Linked DNA regions of Homo sapiens: all the other regions are linked to region 1. The links are contacts of gene promoters, found by promoter capture Hi-C in blood cells and fetal thymus (Javierre and others, 2016). All regions are on one chromosome and are shown on one strand. The core of a region is centred on a gene start or on the middle of the fragment in contact, and the rest is flanking DNA. Distances in the headings are between cores, read along the strand shown.

Region 1 (3,743 bases), core at 465-2,964:
GAATTAGCATCTTTCCTCCTCCTTAACTCTCTTGGAAGCCAGTCACCATGTAAGAAAGCTTAGGCTAAACTCCTGAATGGAGAGAGGCCTTGTGGAGAAGAATCAAGTAACTTCAACCAAGAGGCAACACCAAGACTTCAGCAATTTGAGTGAAGCCATCTTGGACCTTCCACCCCAGTTAAGTGAAGATAGCTGACACATCATAAAGCAGACTAGCCATCTCCGCTAAGCCCTTCCTGAATTCCTGGCAACAGAACTGTGAGCAATAAAACATCTGCTGTTTTTAGTCACTAAGTCTTGAAGTGGTTCATTATGAAGCAATTGATAATTTATAAACAAATTAATATTATTTGGTTTTTTGCTTTGTAAAATTGCTGTAGTCATTTCACAATGATAAAATTATTTAGTGAGTCACTAATAGCTTTGAATGCTAACGAACATTTTTCTCAAATATGTGTTTTAAGTCTTGGCTCACAAAGGAGAATTTGTTTCTATGTATGTATGTATCGCTTTGTTATTATCCTGTGTACTTTTTTAATATAACATTTTAAAAATATGTAACATTTAAACATGTAAAATGTAACGTTTTAAAAATAAATACAAATAAATGGGAAACGATTTGCAACAAACGAGTTGCTATCCTTAATAAGCAAAAAATTCTCACAAATAAAAAAGAAAAATCTTACTCCCTTAATTTTTTAAATGGGAAAAGCCATCTCTGAAGAACCATAAATGGTCAGTAAACATGAAGGGGGACTATCTTAAGCTCACAAAGTTGAAACATGAGGCATCATTTTTCACCGACTAAATAGCCAAAGAAAAATTTAAACAGTGAGACAATACCAGCAAGCTTCCACTGAAGAACGGGAAGACCCTAAGATAGGCTCCAGGAGTCTACGATACCAGTCTCCTTGAACTATGGGGACGTGGACGTCCCTGGTCACAAGTTGCCTGACTTTGGGCGATGTCTACGGCTGTAAATTTGGGATTATATAGCCACAGCACAGAACTGTTGTAAGGCTCCAGTGATACTCATAGGCAAAAGCAATATAAGTGACTGTTAGTTTTTGTTCAGCCTATTCATCCTTACATTTACTTTTGTCGGAAAAGAACTGGAATCACAGGAAAATCTGAGGTTTTTTTTTTTTTTTTTTTTTTGAGACAGAGTCTCGCTCTGTCGCCCAGGCTGGAGTGCAGCACATCTCAGTTCACTGCAAGCTCCGCCTCCCGGGTTCACGCCATTCTCCTGCCTCAGCCTCCCGAGTAGCTGGAACTACAGGCGCCCGCCAACATGCCCAGCTAAATTTTTGTATTTTTAGTAGAGACGGGGTTTCACCGTGTTAGCCAGGATGGTCTCTATCTCCTGACCTCGTGATCCGCCCGCCTCGGCCACCGCGCCCGGCCGAAAATCTGAATATTTTAATGGAAAACTGGGAGTGAGATTCGGGAATTACTTGAGACCAACAATGATGGGTGGTGCCAGGAGAAAGCCAGGGTGGGAACGGCCCAGGCGAGATGCGGGACCCTCCAGGTGCCGCCGCTCACAAGGACCCCTGACTCCTAGCGCACCCTCCCCTGGCCTTGGAGATTCCGCCGGGCTAGCGGCTACCGGGAGAAGGCGGTGGAAACTGTAGAGCCCGCGGCTCTGATTGGCTACCTCAGAGCAAGGGGCGGGGCGGCGGAGGACCCGAAGGGCGCGAGAGCGGAACACTGCGTACGCGCACTTCCGGTCTTTGTGGCTTGCAGCTCGGGGTGGGTGGCTCATTTCCTGGCCGCTCCTGGGCTTCGCGGTGAGGGACGTGGGCCCCTAGGAAGAGGGAGGTGGGGTTGGGAGCGCGCGCCGGACAGTGGAGGAGCTCCGCTCCTCGGCCTGCCCATCCCCAGGTCGCGGCCCTTTGGCCCGCGCGGCGTCTCCAAGCGACTGGGGAACTCAGAGGAGGCCAGCACTCAAACTCCTGCTTTCCAAAGGAAAACGCAGTTCCGCTGACCCCGTGACTTCGTAAATGCTGCGGTTTAACCAAGGATATAAAAATAGAAGGGCTAGTTAGTTAGTTAGTTAGTGCGGCCGGACTGGTTAAACCTTAAATTTGTAGGCTAAATATTTTAATTCATCTCTTAACGTTAACCGTAGTGTGAGGAATGAATTTTACTCATCTGTCCTGACAAACTAAGGGCATACATTCCTATCGATATCTCGCCATCCTAAAAGCAGGTCAAGTTTGGTCTGTGTCACAACATTTAATACCTATTTGTTACCATATTTTGCTTTTGAACATTTTTAGTCTTGGGATATTCTAAGCTTTTTCAGAACTGATACGGATCTCTTTGCTGCTTTTGTGTATGTGATACCTATCATGTTTTTGAACACATGGTAAGCATTTTACAGATACGTCTTGGTTCTTGGTCAATTCCTCTGTAGACTCGTTTATTCATAAGCAAAAATCTTAATGCTCAGTAAGTGCCTCAGTGTTTGTTGAAGTAATTCGGTAAACACCAAATGCGATCAAATGACAAATATCCAATATTTACATCAACTCATGTTTAATGTGAACTTTTAAAAAAACGTTATTACTGCCTTAAATGAAAATCAACATTACTTGCTTTAGATAGAAAGTAAGTAAAAATAAATGTTTAAAATCAGTATTACTAAATTCTGCCTAAATATTTTTACTCTTGGAAGTCTGATTCTGAAGCCTGTATTTTATTTAAAAGAGAGTTCTACAAGTTTTATTAATACATACATGTTAAAGATAGACTTTTCTCCTTGATACAATCAGAATTGAAAGAATTGGAAAGGAAATTTTCTCACTATGTGATTGATGTTAATGTTGCATTCACATTCTTAGGCTTCTAAAATAGTTTTTTCTAACATTAGTGGTAGGAATTCTTCATAATGGGAGACACTAATTGAGGTTAATGATTTTTAGTTTATCATCACATTATTGTTTTATTTAGTGATAGCCCCAAATCTACTCCCTTTCAATATATTACTAAAGTTACTCATCTTTCTTATTACAAGTACTTAGAGATTTTATTGATTGCTGTAAGTTAACTGCTTTTATATCCTTCAGGAAAGAAGAGATTACTCACACTCCTTCGCAAGCACAGAACCAGTTGTACTGAGCTTTTTGCTAAGCTGTTTCAGCCAAGAATGGCTGTGGAATCTGGAGTGATTTCAACCCTGATACCTCAGGATCCTCCGGAACAAGAACTAATACTAGTGAAAGTAGAAGATAACTTTTCCTGGGATGAGAAATTTAAGCAGAATGGGAGTACTCAATCCTGCCAAGAATTGTTTCGTCAGCAATTCAGAAAATTTTGCTACCAGGAGACACCTGGGCCCCGGGAGGCTCTGAGCCGACTCCAGGAACTTTGCTATCAGTGGCTAATGCCAGAGTTGCACACAAAGGAGCAGATCTTAGAACTGCTGGTACTGGAGCAGTTCCTGAGCATTCTGCCTGAGGAGCTGCAGATCTGGGTTCAGCAACATAATCCAGAAAGCGGCGAGGAAGCTGTGACCCTGTTGGAGGATTTAGAGAGGGAGTTTGATGACCCAGGGCAGCAGGTGGGAACGGAGAAAAGTGATGTGGGAAAAGGAATTTACAGCCTGGAGCATGTAATGGTATCATAACAGTAGGATAAAAATTTTTATGTCTCTACTGAACCCTAACCTGAAGTGACTAATAGAGCCATACTTGTCTATACCCTTGAATGGTCTTTTTCCCCTGTCCTTCATCCCTGGA
Region 2 (3,743 bases), core at 501-3,000, 330 kb after region 1:
ATACAGATTTCCTGTCAATGTAAGGAAGAAATCGCTAAGGGAACTAACAAAAGTAGAATAAGTGACATCCAGAGTCACTGAATTCTCCATCTATTGAGAAGTTCAAATCTGACATTTCCTTGACTTCAAACATCTGACATTTCCTTCTGAATATGAATTATCATATCTACAATAAAAGTCTGGTGCACATGTGTGTATATGTCTGAGTGTGATTATGTGTATGCTAGGGTATATGTGTCACATACACATACAGACACATGCACACACACACACACACACACACACACACACACACACACACACACAAAGTCCATTATTAGGATTTCAACTTCCTCTGCTTTAAGATTTGTCTTCCAATCATTTGTCTGAGAAGATACATTAAGAAAACTCCTGAAGGGGCTGGAGTGTGGTGGCTCATACCTGTAATCCCAGTACTTCTGGAGGCTGAGGCAGGTGGATAACCTGAGGCCAGGAGTTCAAGGCCTGCCCGGCCAACATGGTGAAACTCTGTCTCTACTAAAAATACAAAAATTAGCCAGGCGTGGTGGCGCATGCCTGTAATCCCAGCTACTTGGGAGGCTGAGGCAGGAAAATTGCTTGAACCTGGGAGGAGGAGGTTGCAGTGAGCCGAGATTGTGCCATTGCACTCCAGCCTGGGCAACAAGAGCGAAATGCTGTCTCAAAAAGAAAAGAAAAGAAAACTCTCAAAGGACAATTTTTAATGTCCTATCTCATCTAACTTAGTCAACATCAGTTAGTTATCTAAGTTACTAACAGATACCCAAAGAAATATAAACATTGTAAGGCCTTCTGAACACGGCAACACCTTTTGAGGGTGGGGTGGGTGGCAACTGTTTGGCAAGTGCATGCAGTTATCCTTTTGCAATACAGATCTTTAGGTTTTTAATTTCTGGAACGAGATCTATCAAAAAACTGAGACTTTCTTGGAAGGTCTCCAGGAATGGGAGTGGATAGAGCCAGCTCTACCTGCCCCAAGATACTCCTAAGGGTGGAGCTCAGAGAACTATATTTTTAACAAGCATCTCTGGAGAATTCTGAATCACACTAAGGACTGGGAAATATGATTTTAAGGGATCTCAAGGCTTCAGCATAAAAGAAGTAAGCTCTTTTTCTATGCTTTAAAATATCAATTTCTCTAGAATATTCCTTGTTTTCTTTTATTGGAGACAAGGAAATTATAAAGACATTTGAAGATGGTATTCTCACTTTATTCATTTTTTGGGAAACTGTCCTGGGTCTATATTTCCAATCACATCTCATTCATTCTCTGCTACTCTGAAAAGAGCTCATGTCATTATTCACTGTGATGATGGGAATCTGGCCTTAGACGACATCTAGGAGTACAGCCTCAAGAAACAGACAAAAATGGTCATGGTTACAGGATATAATTTCTATAATCCTAAAAAGAGTATAGCAACAGTCTCAAGGAGATAAAACCTAGCCAGCAAGAAGCTTATTATAAATGTGATCTAGTTACAAGTCAAAAAGAGGAAATAAAAATAATTATTTTTAACTTCTGTAGTCACTAATTAAATGAATGACCTATTGTAATATAATTTGAAATATTTATTTGGAGAAGAATTACTAGAAAAACTAACTTTAGATTTTAGCAAAAAGAGAAAATAAACAAAGAAGTGGCTGACTTTGTTCCCTCTTCATAAAGTTCCAGAATTTAACATTTTCATCAGAAGGTACAAAAATAGCCTCTACACAATCTTATGAGACACAAAGTGAATAACTGAACTCAATTTGCCTTATTAAAATTTATTATATAACAGCCATTTAATCATTTTTTAGCTGGACTGTAAATGTCCTCCTATAGACTGAAATGCTCTGAGAAACAATTGTGCTCTCTTATATGTCACCCACGTCTTCAACACTGCTGACTATGTAATGAGACATTAAAAATGCCTGTGGGTTAAGTAACTGCTTTTTTAAAAGGACTCATTGTGAACTCAAATATCCTTATGAAATTTTAGTATACCAAGTTAAAGAGAAAACTTTTAAAAGCTTTCTGAGAGCAAAAACAACTAATTTGCAGTGAGATGAGAATCATATCAACTTTCAGATTTTCCAGGTTTAGATGGACTACAATGAAACAACGGCTTCAAAGTGCTAACAGAAAGTGGCATAAGCCATAGAATTCTATGCCCAGCCAGTTTACCAATCTGCAAGTCAGACTGAAAGGAGTCAACATTAAATTCTTTTTCTGGAAAAAAAAAAGTCACTTGAGCATATGCTCTAGGAAAATGAAAATGGAAATCAAAAAAGATGAATACATGGAATCCAAGAAATAATGGCCACAAATCAGAATAGCGATAAAAAGAATTCCTAGTAAAGGCAATTGTTTCGAATTAAGCACATAGTCAGACTTGGAGATGAATGTGTTTAATAAGAAAATAAATTCACTTCAGCAATTAAATATGATTTAAGAAGGCGTATGAATTTACAAATAGAATGAAGGTAATTGTTTTTCTGTTAACAAGATAATAAAATAAGACAAACAGAAATTCCTTGAAAAATAAAAAGCTCTACAGCAAAATCAGTCTATATAAAACAAATTAAATGTAGCACAATTCTGAACAGGGGTGTAATGAATGATAAACCATTTGATCTTGGTTTCTGAAGTATTCATCTTGTAGCTACACATATTTAGGAGAAGTGTTCCATTTCCTTTTCTGCAAGTCCAACTAAAGTTTTTGGTTCTATGGAAAATAATATGTATGCAATTACAGTATTGTAAGTGCCCTTTATTGGATTCTAGTTTTTTAAATCATCTTATATACAAGGCATAGAAGATAATAATAGTTCTAAAACACAATGGAAATGTCATAAACCATGGTGTAAGAGTTGTGAGATAGAAAGGGAAAAGGAGGTATGAAAATGTAAGGGTGTATGTAGCCTCATTATTTTTTATAATGAAGACTTGAGAGATGCTATCAAAAGTTGAATGATCAAGGAAACACTTTACCTATCAATTTAAAGTTACAAAGTAAGCCAGTAGAAGAACTATGTATAATACTACTAAGACACTTTGAGAAGAGGAGGGAGACAGGAGTGGTGTTAATGAGCTCTATTCCTTGTCTTCGATACGTGGGACTCAATAGATATTTGTGTATGATAGCTTGGCTTATTGATCCCAATTCTGCTCCCTCCTGTGAAGAATTATACATCCACACTCTTCGTCGTGTGATTTTTCGCATGCTTCCTGGTAGAGCACATATAGTGCCATCCCTACTCCGTTGACTCTCACTTTGGCCGTGTGAATTATTTTCAACAATGGAATGTGGGTGGAAGTGACAGTGGCCAGTTGTAAACAGAGGCTTCCAAAAATATCATGTGTTTGTGTTGCTCCTCTTCAGCTGTGGCCGTCTGCCATGGGAAGAACATGCCCTAAATAATGGCCACTTCTTTAGCCTAAGTCCCAAAATGAGAAGATGCATACAGCCAAGCCTGACTAAGTCCAGCATAGCTGCAGACAGTGACTCATGAGCTTGAAATAAGTGTTTGTTGTTGTAAGCCACAATTTGGGGATTGTTTGTGCGGCAGCAAAAATTGATAAACATACTATCTGAAGTTGATGAACTGAGAATGGGGACTATATTATTTAGAGTTAGAGGAGGAATCTACCAGGAGAGGGAGGAGTGGCAACCACCTAACAAAAATGGTTAGTTACTTCTAAAGATTGTGTTGGGGAAGAGAGTTTAAGTTTTTTATTTCAC
Region 3 (3,743 bases), core at 652-3,151, 280 kb before region 1:
AATTCTGTGCTAACATAAATTCTATGTTAATCACGGAACAGAGGATATGATTTATTTTATTTGCCACTGATAAATTTTATCACAGATACTGATAGATTCTGTCACAGCACTAACATTACTCATAGCTCATAGAATTGCAGAAGTAATTTTTTGTACACTGTTACTGTTCATACAATTTTTATTATGATATAAAAGACTATCATAGACATAGTTAGCCAATTCTGGTCAAAGATACACATTCCAAACCATTTTAAAATTGAAATTAATCCAATAAATTATAATAGCATTGAAGATTTTAGTTCCTGAAATAGTTTATTGTTGAGTGTTTACGGTATAACATGAGTTATCACAAAATAAATAGGATCTTTTAAAAATTAGTGAATCACAATGGCCTCGGTTCTCCAGTGATATTTTAATGGCAGAATATGTACGTGAACAGAAAGACAGTCATGAATTGATGACCATAACCTTGAACCAGGGTTCAAAAACTTTAAAACTGTGTTCTATCTTTGCTAATGACACAGGTCATAACTTCACGCAATAAAACTTCATTCATCAGCCCTTTCTTTCCAGTCCATTGGAAGTCCTGTCTCTACACCAACTACTCTGTGACAGAAAGTCTCTTGAATACTAAAGGGATCATAATACCGTGCCTAACTCACAAAAATGTTACAGAATCTAGTTATATAATAGATTGAAAAGTGTTTTAACACCATATGCACATGTGCATAATATGATCTTACTATTTAATGCTCATGTATGTGAGAGCTTGAAGTGGCATGACTGAGGAAGTTGATTTTGAAGCCATTTGAAACAAAAAGTCATATAAAACAATATAGTAAACTGAAAAGAAAATAGATACTAAAAATTATGTACTGCTAGGCCATTTCAAGCAGTGATCTACAGTCTTTGAAAGGAAAACATTTGCTCTCATTTTAATAGCAATAATAAAGTGTTCTGTGTCAGCCTAGCTTATGTTAGCCTTAGCAGTACAGCAAAGCCAAGTTCTAAGCTTCTGATTTCTTCTTGGACCAATCCAGAAATGTGGGGTCATCCAGGTCGCTATATGGTGCCAGTAGTATATGCCATATCCTTCCAGGTGTCCTGGGCATTGGCATTCCATCTTTCTTAAAAAATACTTTGATCAAGTCTAAAACATTATTGTTTTTCATCAAGTCTAAAGCATCATTGAATATGACAATCAACGTATTATTATTATACATAATAGACGTATATAATTTCAGAGTATGTGATAATACATTCATATAATTTGTAAAGATCAAATCAGTGTAATTGGGATGTCCATCATCTTAAATATTTGTCTTTTCTCTATGCTAGAAACATTCAAATTATTCTTTCAACTATCTTCAAATATACAATAGATTATTGTAAAGTATAGTCACCCTACTCATCTATCAAACAGTAGGTCTTATTTAATCTATCAAACTGTACCCATCAATCAACTTCTTTTCATTTCCTCCTCTCCCCTACTCTTCCTGGCCTCTGGTAACCACCAATCTATTCTCTATCTTCATGAGATCTACTTTTTTTCTTCTATATATGAGTGAGAACATGTAATATTTATCTTTCTGTGCCTCGCAACATTACTTTTTAATGTATCCTATGAAAGAAAGTTCTATTAAATTATGACATGCCATGGATTGTATAATACATGCCAATTTCAAGGATTTTAAAAGGTAAAAAAAAGTTTGTCTTAGAATCAATGAATATAATAATTATTTTGTTAGCATAAAAGTAATGTATATTTGTTAAAAACCTGAAAAATACTGAGTATTAGCTGAAATATGGTTGCAGGTAACAGAAAAGCTTGATTATGTAAGAAAAATGTGTGTAACTGAAAATCCAGAGGAAGAACAGAGGGTAGAGTTGATTTAATTCAGGAACTAATGGCTATCACAACAGCAGTTTCTTTCCATCTCCCTGCTATGTCTCCCATTGTGTCAGCCTTCTTGAGACAAGCTTCTTTCGTGGTATCTGTTCCAGGTTTCCCATCTGCACCCCCTACACTACAATGGAGACAGAAATTCTATCCTAGCATTCTAAGTAAAAAATCTTTTTTTTTTTTTTTTTTTGAGATGAAGTCACACTCTTGTCCCTAGGCTGGAGTGCAATGGTGCAATCTTGGCTCACTGCAACCTCTGCCTCCCCGATTCAAGTGATTCTCCTGCCTCAGCCTCCTGAGTAGCTGGGATTACAGGAACCTGCCACCACTCCCGGCTAATTTTTGTATTTTTAGCAGAGATGGAGTTTCACCATGTTGGCCAGGCTGGTCTCAAACTCCTGACCTCAGGCGATTCACCCGCCTCGGCCTCCCAAAGTGTTGGGATTACAGGCGTGAGCCACTGCACCCGGCCTCTAAGTAAAAATTGTAATATTCATCTGCTAAGGTCATCTAAGTCATCTCAGTTCACCTGAATTGTAACCGTTTTTAGGAAAGTGAAAATGTACATGAAATGTATAGGGACCGAACAGGGAAAACTGAAAAATTTTCTTATTACTAAAAAAAAAGAATGTAAAAATGAATGCTTGAAAAGTGTGATGGTTAATTTTACTAGTCAACTTGGCTAGGCAGTGGTGCCCAGTTGTTTGGCGTCAGCACCACAGGCCAAACACACACACACACACACATACACACAACTACATATACAAAGAGAGAGACTGATTTATTTTTGACACACAAAAGCCAATAAAAATGTCTACTAAAACTTTGGGAGGCCAAGGCAGGTGGATCACCTGAGGTCAGGAGTTCGAGACCAGCCTGGCCAACATGGCAAAACCCTGTCTCTACAAAAATACAAAAATTATCTGGGCGTGATGGTGCGTGCCTGTAGTCCCAGCTACTCGGGAGGCTGAGGCAGGAGAATCGCTTGAACCCAGGAGGTGGGGGTTGCGGTAAGCCGAGATCGTGAGATTGTGACACTGCACTCCAGCCTGGGAGACACAGTAAGCTTCCGTAAAAAAAAAAAAAAAAAGGGAAAAGTATAAAAAGAAAAAAATAGAAATCCCCTATAATCAGGAATATCACCATTTTAAAATGTTTTATTCAACTTTATCTATTTACTTACTTTTACATGTATGAAAACATATGGGAACTTACTTTACTCAAATGACATCACACTGCATATATCAGATTCAAAACCTTGGAATCTTGTTTTTGTCCCGTAATATATTAAAGTGATCATTTTTCCATGCCCCTAAGTATCTTTAACGTAAATACCTAAATATATTTAACTGCTGATTTTTTTCAGCAGCTACCAAATAATCCATCACATAACTGAACTACAATCTGTTTAACTAGTTGACTGTTTCTGGGCTTTTTGATGATTTCTTTTTCTTTAACTACACAGTGCTCTCTCCTGATTTGAAAAAGCCAGTCAGACACTGTTTCTGGAATCTGAGGTTTCTAGAAGCCAGGATCAAAAGTGTCGCACTTGGTTCCACTTCATGCAAGCTAGAGCTCATTATGAATAAAAGAGCATGTTGCTAACTTGGCCTTTAGCCAGAGTCTGACCTGGCATCAAAACATATCACTGTTCTGGAGATAATCACAAAGATCTGCAACCATCATAAAGGTTTCTGTGGCAGTGACATGGACTCCTGATCCCTGTTCCTATGTTGTCATTGCTATTATAAACATGCATTTGTATTAAACTAACATAGTAATGTTTGTGACTTGTCTAAAATTTGTTTAATCTTGTAAGATTCTTGTAAGAAAGAAAATC
Region 4 (3,743 bases), core at 504-3,003, 260 kb after region 1:
TCATTCCTTAACTCAAGGACTCACCTCCAACAAGCCAGTCACCTAAGCAAACTCTACTGTCCCCACCTCCTCCCATTCCTCACCTCCTCAGCTCGCTTCTCTCCTTCACGGCTCCTGCCCTGGTGAATCTGTATCCCATGTCTACATCTCAGCAACAGCCTCCAGATGGACGTTTCGGCCGCCATCTTTCCCTTATCCATTCCTGACCCCAGACCATCCTTCACACTGGCTGCCAGAATGGGATTTCTAAATTACAAATATAATCATACCACTTACTTTCTTACATTCTTCAGGGCCCTTTTGCCTTCAGGGTAAAATTTTTTTTTTACCTTCAGGGTAAGAACGTTTTGGCTTGTCATACAAGGTCCTTAATGACTGGGCTCTGGGCCGGGCGCGGTGGCTCACACCTGTAATCCCAACACTTTGAGAGGCTGAGGCGGGCAGATCACAAGGTCAGGAGATAAAGGCCATCCTGTCCAACACGGTGAAACCTCGTCTCTACTAAAAATACAAAAATTAGCTGAGTATGGTGGCATGCGCCTGTAATCCCAGCTACTCAGAAGGCTGAGGCAGGAGAATCGCTTGAACCCGGGAGATTGCAGTGAGCAGAGATCGTGCCACTGCACTCCAGCCTGGCAACAGAGCAAGACTCCGCCTCAAAACGACAACAACAACAACAACAACAACAACTGGGCTGTGCCCCATTCTGTTGCTTGGTTCCCAACACTTAATTCCTTGTGTTCCAGCCAAGGACTAACTCTATTTCCTAGAATGTATATGTTTTCTTAGCTTGTCATATTTTTGTTTCTATTATTTCCTCTCCTGGGAATGCTTAGCTCCTTGCCTGATTACCATCCATTTTGCCTCAGTTCAGATGCTACTTCCAATGAAAAGCTTTCTGCCATCTGACACACCTTCCTTCCCCTTCCCTTTCCCTGTCCTCACGCTGTGCACGTGAGCACAGGGGGACCTGCTGGGCTGCTTCCTGTCATCCCTTATTGAGTTCAAACACCAACTCCCTACTTTTAAGGAGTCAGACAAGTGGATGCACCGCCATCTGGTTTCCTGTTACTAAATTCAGGCCTGATCTTGTCTGATTCCTTTCTTTCTGAAATTCTTCCCTTGGTATCTGAAACATCACCATCTTTTTGTTTTCCTCTTTCCTGGCCAGTCTTCTGTTACCAAATGGTCTCTAATGCTACTACAGGTTTTTCAAAATATATAGTCACATGCTCCTGTAGATTCACATTTTAAAAGTTTCCCAAGTGATTCTAATGATCAGCCAGGTTTGAAACCAGACTCTTGCACAGAATCCTTACATATTGAGAGTTCCTTGGTGCTTGGTCCAAGGCCCTCTGCTCTTCTCAGTTGATACTCTCCCCAGCCATTGCACCATTTCTTGCGGATTCAGTTACCACCTAAATGCAGACCACTTTCAGATTTGCATCCTTTATCTGGCTCTTTCTCCAAAGATGCATACCCAAGGCCAGGTATGGTGGCTCATGTCTGTAATCCCAACACTTTGGGAAGCCGAGGCGAGTGGATCACTTGAGGTCAGGAGTTCAAGTCCAGCCTGGCCAACATGGGTGAAACCTCGTCTCTACTAAAAAAATACAAAAATTAGCCAAGCATGGTGGGGCCTGCCTGTAGCCCCAGCTACTTGGGAGACTGAGGCACAAGAATCACTTGAACTCGGAGGGTGGAGGTTTCAGTGAGCCTGGGCGACAGAGGAAGACTCCGTCTCAAAAAAAAAAAAAAAAAAGCATACCTGGACGTAAAATTCCTTTCCCTAGTATAAACTCAGATGCTTACACGCATCTTTCACTCCGCATGGCAAAAACAGAATTCATCATCCTCTCTGCTCCTCTAAAACAGATTCCTCCTTCAGTGTTTCCTGTCTCAGCAAATGCCACGATTAGCCACCAGTTCTTCAGACCAAAACTTGGGAGTCATCCTTGACTCCTCCCCTTCCTCCACTCCACACCATAACCGTATTCCAGCCACCATCTCTCTCTGGACTTGCAAAGTGGCCTTATGCGTTCTCTTTCTGCCTCCACCTTTGGTCCGTGCAACCCAGTTCCAACATGCGATTCCAGATGATTTCTTTAAAGATACAAATGTGCATTTTTCAGATCACACCGCCTGCTTGAAACCATTCAGTGGCTTCCTGTGGTCCCTAGAATGAAGCCCATTGTCCACGAGGTGGTTCCAAAGGTCCTTAGAGACCTGCCATCTCTCCAGCTTGCCTCTGTCCCAGGTCCCTGCACTCCTGCTCAGTTTTCACTTTTGTTAGTTCCAACAACCAGCTGTGCCCCTCCTCCCTCAGGCCTTGACACACTGCTCCTCCTGCCTGGAAGCTGCTTTTCTCCCGACCCCACCCTCCTCTGGTCTCACTAAATTCCACGCACCCTTCCTATCTTGGCTGACATGCTACATTTTCAGTGTTCCCTCTCCTCTGGTCTGGTTCCACATTCCCATCAGTCTCTCTCAGTTATTTAATCCCTGTTGATTACCTTTTTTTCTTTTTTTTTGGGAGGATCTTTCTATGTAGCCCAGTACATACATTTCTAGTAGGGAAGGAAAGATATTATATTTGTCTTCTCAGCTGGACTTAAGCTTCCTATAGGCAGTTGCCAGAGTCATCAGGGATTGAGTGGCAGAGCATCAACAGATGACAGCAACAAGGAGAGTGGGAGAAATGCTGGAGGACATTGGCTTGAGAAACCTGCCCCATGATCACCGTGGTAGTGCCAGTTACTACCAGTGTTGGCACATACCAGGATCCCATATACTTGCTGCATATGTAACTCATGGGTTTCCTTGTCCATTGGTAAAGATAAATTAATACTGATGACTCAACATTCTGCTAGCTTATGTGTTGAGACAGGGCCTAAGGCTGCCCTAAGTTCCCTCCTCAGTTATTCCTGAAAACTTGCAGGGTGTGTCTCACCCCTGCCGTAGTGTGCGCCCTCTCTTGCACTTCCTCTTCAGCTTCCTTCCTGGTACTTGCAGCTCCTGTTTCCCTCACCAATGCCACACTTCCTTTGGCAAAGGCTGCTGGGGCTTTCTCTGGGATATTGATGCCCTGACTGCGGTGTACCAGTTAAGCAGCCTCAGCCAGAGTCTTGATCCCAGTTAAGACAATGATTAAGAATGAATAATGTGCCTGCTAAGCTACTATGTATGACTTGAGACACAGAGTGCCGAATTTACTGTCTCTCAAAGATCTCAGCAAACACAGTAGATATTTGGGATCATGCTGCTATTGCATGGAAGACACACTGCTCTTCTCTTGACACCTTGTGTGAAGTGTGCTAGTCATGCTCACTGTATGAAAAATGGCTGTTCCAGTTGATATGGGACTCCTTGATGAAGGGAAGAAACCTTGAAGCTGTTGCAGTCAAGATGCTCAAAATCCCCCAACTCCCAGATACTGAAAGAGGCAGCTTAGTGTGCACTGTCTACTCTGAGCTCTGGGGACGTGCAGTTGAAAACAAACCCATTGCAGTGAGAAGCTGATGGAATCCTCAGAGACCAGTGGCAGTCCTCTCAGGAGTGTGAGAGCAGCACTCATTCCTGGAACACCATCTCTGAGGAACCTTCCTAAAGTAGCCTGTGTTTTCTCCATCACAGACCAAAGTATATCGTTTGGTAAGTGCTTGTGGGTCACAGGCTCACTTGAGCAGACACAGTTTCTTCTTTGTCGCTGTTTTCAGAGTATTGCAGTCCCTCGGTGGCAATCT

Evidence for each region. The method cuts DNA at HindIII sites, captures the fragments that hold promoters and counts their contacts. A CHiCAGO score of 5 or more calls a contact.
Region 2: a contact is called between a fragment that was not itself captured here and the fragment with the promoter of ZNF397 in region 1, in 2 of 17 cell types (total B cells and total CD8 T cells). The highest score is 6.2, in total B cells.
Region 3: a fragment that was not itself captured here is called in contact with the fragment with the promoter of ZNF397 in region 1 in 4 of 17 cell types (activated CD4 T cells, total CD8 T cells, naive CD8 T cells and 1 more); the score reaches 7.2 in activated CD4 T cells.
Region 4: a contact is called between a fragment that was not itself captured here and the fragment with the promoter of ZNF397 in region 1, in 9 of 17 cell types (non-activated CD4 T cells, activated CD4 T cells, naive CD4 T cells and 6 more). The highest score is 11.8, in non-activated CD4 T cells.

The regions. Positions count from the first base shown.
Region 1 is chr18:35,239,320-35,243,062 of GRCh38, forward strand. It overlaps ZNF397 (zinc finger protein 397), which reads left to right and starts at 1,715. Exons shown (of 4, transcript NM_001135178.3): 1 at 1,715-1,790; 2 at 3,072-3,565. The coding sequence starts at 3,152. RefSeq lists enhancers at 1,397-1,506, 1,452-1,977 and a silencer at 1,767-1,896. The HindIII fragment of the contact is 1,449 bases long and covers 849-2,297 here.
Region 2 is chr18:35,569,437-35,573,179 of GRCh38, forward strand. No RefSeq gene overlaps it. Among named protein-coding and RNA genes, the nearest start is that of GALNT1, 10 kb to the right of the region's middle. The HindIII fragment of the contact is 558 bases long and covers 1,472-2,029 here.
Region 3 is chr18:34,961,792-34,965,534 of GRCh38, forward strand. No RefSeq gene overlaps it. Among named protein-coding and RNA genes, the nearest start is that of MAPRE2, 78 kb to the right of the region's middle. The HindIII fragment of the contact is 153 bases long and covers 1,826-1,978 here.
Region 4 is chr18:35,499,360-35,503,102 of GRCh38, forward strand. No RefSeq gene overlaps it. Among named protein-coding and RNA genes, the nearest start is that of INO80C, 3.3 kb to the left of the region's middle. The HindIII fragment of the contact is 1,722 bases long and covers 893-2,614 here.